2 separate regions of the Homo sapiens genome follow, and region 2 is linked to region 1. The links are contacts of gene promoters, found by promoter capture Hi-C in human tissues and cell types (Jung and others, 2019). All regions are on one chromosome and are shown on one strand. Each heading gives the region's core, a stretch centred on a gene start or on the middle of the fragment in contact. The rest is flanking DNA. Distances are from core to core; before and after follow the strand shown.

The links. Contacts are between HindIII fragments. The study calls those that stand out against the background at their distance.
Region 2: a contact is called between a fragment that was not itself captured here and the fragment with the promoter of ZBP1 in region 1, in 1 of the 25 tissues and cell types used here (ovary).

Annotation. Positions count from the first base shown.
Region 1 is chr20:57,619,168-57,621,867 of GRCh38, reverse strand. It overlaps ZBP1 (Z-DNA binding protein 1), which reads left to right and starts at 1,442. Exons shown (of 8, transcript NM_030776.3): 1 at 1,442-1,606. The coding sequence starts at 1,573. RefSeq lists enhancers at 1,193-1,482, 1,613-1,662. The HindIII fragment of the contact is 12,502 bases long and covers 1-2,700 here.
Region 2 is chr20:57,472,066-57,474,765 of GRCh38, reverse strand. No RefSeq gene overlaps it. Among named protein-coding and RNA genes, the nearest start is that of CTCFL, 52 kb to the left of the region's middle. RefSeq lists enhancers at 758-1,257, 1,258-1,759. The HindIII fragment of the contact is 7,450 bases long and covers 1-2,700 here.

The DNA.
Region 1 (2,700 bases), core at 193-2,692:
GCTCTAGCCCGACAGCTGGGCTGTATCAGCCCCTTAGGTCCTCACCTCGACCCCATGCGCTAGGTCCTTTGATTAAGTCCTTTTACACATGGGGAAACTGAGGCACAGAGGGGTTAAATAATTTGTCCGAGGTCACACAGCCGGTAAATGGCGGAGCCAGGTTTGGACCCAAGCATGCTGACCCAGGCTTGCATTCCGAACCACTCGGCTGCTGACCCCAGGCATCTGACTCTGGAATTAATAAGCAAGTTTTATGATGAGGCGGGGAACTCCACGCCATCTGTGCACTAAGGGTGATTCACCAGTGACTTCTGGGTGTTATAGATCAGGAAACACAATTGGGGAATGGACAGGACAAGCTCTGTCATGGACTCTGTGTGGCCTTGGACAAGTGATCTTGCCTTTCTAGCCTCAGTTTCCCCCCTGAGAAGAAGACAGAACTGGCCCCTACCCTGTAGATGGGTTGGAGGAGCACTTGAGATTGGAAAACGCATAATAGGTGTTCATTAAAGAGGCTCACATGGATACACACAAGAACAATCTCAGGGCCTTCACGCACCTAAATGTTCTGCCCCTAGTGTGGGCAAGGGAAACAAACTGGAAGAAGACAAGAAAAGCCACTGAGAGCTGGGGACGGTGCCTCTGTAGCACCTGTGAGTCCCCGAGGAGGAAGTACTACAGGAACCAGCGGGGCCGGGCGTGGGGGCTTGCGGCTGGAATCCCAGCACTGTGGGAGGCCAAGGCAGGCAGATCGCTTGAGCCCAGGAGTTTGAGACCAGCCTGGGCAACACGATGAAACCCCATCTCTACAGAAAATACAAAAATTAGCCGGGCATGGTGGTCTAGGCCTGTGGTCCCAGCTACTAGGGAGGCTGAGAGGTGGGAGGATCGCTGGAGTCCGGAAGGTCGAGGCTGCCGTGAGCCGTGATCACGCCACTGCACTCCAGCCTGGATGACAGAAACCCTGTCTCAAAAACAAACAAAAACACAGAAACCAGATAACCAGCCCCAGCCCCTCACATCATCAGAGTGATGCCACGCCCTGGCATCCCCCTCCACGTGGTGCATGCTCTTTTTTTTATTTTTATTTTCTTCAGTTCTCTGATGCTGATTCAGAAAATAAAAATGTAGAGGTCCAGGTGGGCTGTGCCTGGAACGGGGAAGGTGAGGGAAGTCCTCTGTCTCAAAGGCCTCTTCGGAGGACGCTCTGGTCTTGCCAAGTTTACAGCTCCTCCCTGTCAACATCAAGTCAGGTCCCCAACTCTGTCTTGCTCATCCACCTGGCTTCCACTTTTTTTTTCTTTCAAAAGACGAACAGAGAAGTTTCATTTTCTTTTTCTCCTGAAACCGAATCTGGCCGGCCTGGCTAGGCATCTATTTCCGGGCTGTAAGCAGCTGACACCTGCCCAGTGGAAGCTGGCATCCCTCCCCTTGTGGGTTCAGAGCTGCAAGAAGCACCAGGCTCGGCCACTTCAGAAGCCCCAGCCTCGACCTAGCCCACCCTCTCAGGGCCACAGTGCAGAAGCCTGCACACCTGCCAAGTCTCTCCGACTCCTTGCAGCTGCTGTCAGCATGGCCCAGGCTCCTGCTGACCCGGGCAGAGAAGGTACAGTACTTCTTCCTTCCAAGGACCAGCGGTAGCTCCCGGGGTGAGATTTCTACTTCTCTTTCCTCCTGTTTCGCTTGGTCCAGATCATGATGACAATAGCAGTATCCTAAAGAATAGTAGACCAGCTGGGCGTGGTGGCTCACGCCTGTAATCCCAGCACTTTGGGAGGCGAGGTAGGTGGACTGTTTAAGCTCAGGAGTTTGACACTAGCCTGGCCAACATGGCGAAACCCCATCTCTACTAAAATTACAAAAATTAACCGGGCATGGTGGCGCATGCCTGTGATCCCAGCTACTCGGGATGCTGAGGCTGGAGAATCGCTTGAACCCGGGAGGTGGAAGTTGTAGTGAGCTGAGATGTCGCCATTGCACTCCAGACTGGGTGACAGAGTGAGATTCCATCTCAGAAAAAAAAAAAAAAAATAGAAAGGGACAGCATAGCCATCCCCCTTTGACAGCTGACTGTGCCCCAGGCACCTCGAAACATGCTTTCCAAGCATTTCCTGATGGCCTGCAGGGACAAGTGCCATGTCATTCCCATTTTATAGATAACTGAGGCCCTGAGAGGTGAAATGACACTCTCAGGGTAACACAGCTGGCGAACGCTGGTGTTAGCGTCTGAACACCCATGTCACAGTCATATCGAGAACAAAGCGGTTTGCTTTGATGAGATACATGTGTGCCTTTGTTCCCCCTTGTTGCATCCTTTCCTCAACTAACATTTCATTCATTTTATTCCTGGAAGAGTTGCAATGAAAGCCAATAGTGTATCGAGTAATTGCTGTTCTCTAGGGTCTCCACTAAGCGCTGTGGACTGTAGGTGAAGTGTGGTTTTGCGGTTTGGGGGATGTGTTTGTTTTGTTTTTAATCCTCACCACAATCTTTGAAGTAGTTATTACTGTCTCCATTTCACAGAAGAGGAACCTGAAGCCGGAGGGGAGGTCACACAGCTAGTAGTTGGCAGGGCTAGGAGCTCAAACCCAGGAAATCAGCCATCAGAATTTTAAAAAACCAACACAGAGTGTGCCCCGGGAGGGCTAATGTCAGGGTGTGGCCCAGGAGCCGGGCTGACCGCGGAGGTCCTGTGGAGCT
Region 2 (2,700 bases), core at 154-2,653, 150 kb after region 1:
CAGTCAGACGGCCTGGGTTCAGATCCTGACACTGTCTCTTATTTAGCTGGGTAGGTGCGTTCATTTCCTGGGGCTGCTGTAAACTGCCACAACTTCAGTGGCTTAAAACAGCACAAAGTGATTCTCTTACAGTTCTGGAAGTCAGAAGTCTAAGATGAGCTAAAATCCAAGTGTTGGCAGGGCTGCACTCCTTCTGGAGGTTATGGGGAAGAATCCATTTTCTTGCCTATTCTGGCTTCTAGAAGCCTGCGTTCCTTGGTTCATAGCCTCTTCCTCCATCCTCAAGGCCAGGAAAGACTGGTCTTGTCTTCCTCATTCTGACACAGACCCTCCTACCTCCCTTTTCCACATTTAAAGGGCCCCTGTGATTATACTGGACCCACCCAGCAACCCATGATAACTTCCCTCTCTTAAAGGCAGCTGATCGGCAACCCTAAATCTATCTGCCACTTAATTCCCCTGGCAAGGAAGGTAGCACATCACAGGTTGCAGGGATTAGGACATGGACATCTTTGGGAGCTATTACTCTGCCTACCTCAGCAAATTGGAAACAATTTTACCTCTCTGAGTCTGTTTCCTCACCTCTAAAAAGAGAATAGGAAATATCTAGCTCCCATGGACATTGCAGCAAAGAAAAAATAAATGGACCTGAAGCAAGGGCCTCAAACTGGGCACCCACAGGCTCCACTCAACCAAGGAGCATGATTCGCCTCCCATCCAATCTCCATGAGTTGCTAATATTTTTTAACTGGCAAATTTCACATTAAAATTCAGATTTCCTGTTTCTCTTAACTCGTAGGAGGCTCTCACCCACTGGATCTGCTTTCTGGGGTGTTGACAATCAGCTGTACTGAGCCGTGGCTGCCCCTTTGGGATGGGCCGTGGTTCCCCAGTTCACCACAGTCCCCACTTTTCCCTATTGTCTCTCCCTCAGTCCACTTCTTCCAATTACACACCCTGCCTGGCCCCCAGAGGGAGCTCGATTTGGGACATTTGCGAAGAAGCATTGGCAGGCAGAAGCAGCTTCATAAAGGATAGTTAATATTATTTCTATTCACTAAGATCCATTAACAGGGCAATTCTCAAGTTTGGCTGTGCATTAGAATTCCCTAGGGAACTTTAAAAACTGCTAGTGCCCAAGCCACACCTGCATGAAATACACGGGAACTCTGGGATGAGGCCCGGTTCAGGATTGCTGCAGCTCCCCAGGGATTCTGGCCAGGGCATTTTCAGACGCTCCCTGGGAGCTAGAGCTCAGGCAACGTGGAGCAGACGGAGCTCAGGTGCAAGGCTGTGGGGCAGAACTCGCCTCCCCAGCGTCCCCCCGCAGGCAGAGAGGAAGAGAGGGCCAGAGTGTGGATTGTGAAACCACTAATGAAACATGCCAGGCTGCAACAATGAGCTATGGCTGTCTGCACATCCGCTTCCTGCTGTGAAGAGCTGAGGGGCTGCCCGGACACTTGTGGAAGCTTTCAGAACTCAGTGAGTCCTTCACAGAGTGGTGGGGGCGAGTCCACAGCTTCCTTTTCTTCTCTCTGTACACTCCCAGGATGTAGGGACCTGTGAGGCCCCCCGGCTGCTTGTGCAGTGATCATCCTCCTCCTGCTCTTTATTCCAGAGATGGGAAATCTCTGCTGCACGGGTACCTGAAAGTTCTGGCAACTCGGATGCAGGATCAAAATGTGGTTCCATTGTTGGCGATGAACCATAAGCCATACCATTTATCATTATTTATTATTATTAGAGAGAGGGTCTTGCTCTGTTGCCCAAGCTGGAGTACTGTATTAGTCCATTCTCATGCTGCTAATAAAGACATAGCCAAGACTGGGTAATCTATAAAGGAAAGAGGTTTAATGGACTCATAGTTCCACATGGCTGGGGAGGCCTCGCAATCATGGCAGAAGGCGAATGAGGAGCAGTCACGTCTTACATGGCGGCAGGCAAGAGAGCTTGTGCAGGGGAACTCCTATTTATAAAACCTTCAGATCTTGTGAGACTTATTCACTACCACAAGAACAATACGGGGGAACCCATACTGTTCAGTTATCCCCCTGTGATTCAGTTATCTCCAGCTAGCCCTGCCCTTGACACATGGGGATTATTACAATTCAAGGTGAGATTTGGGTAGGGACACCACCAAACCATATCAAGTACAGTGGTGTGATCACTGCTCACTGCAGCCTTGAGCTTACAGGCACAAGCAATCCTCCCACCTCAGCCTCCCAAGTAGCTGGGACCACAGGTGCCCACCACCACACCTGGCTAATTTTTAATTTTTTCGCTATGTTGCCTAGGCTGCTATTGAGCTCCTGGGCTTAAGCAATGCCCCTTCCTTGGCCTCCCAAGGTATTGGGATTACAGGTGTGGTCACCGCTCCAGCCCCCATTTATTAAGTGTATTGAACAAATATTTATGGAACACCTGCTGTGTACCAGGTGCTATTCTAAGTGCAAGGAATAAAAGGGATGGAGTCCTTGCCTAAAGGAGTCAGTGAAATACCAGGTGGCACAGAGGGTGTCCATGCTGTGGAGGAAGGGCAGCAATGGGAGCAGGGAGCTCTAGGAAGAGGAGGGTGAGTTAATCATTTCTTAAGGGGGTGGTGAGAGAATTTGACAACTGAGCAAAAGGAGAGAGTCTTGTGAGAGAGGGAGGCCAGGCAGGGGACAGCAAGGGCCTGGGGTAGGGGTGGAAAGGGTGCCT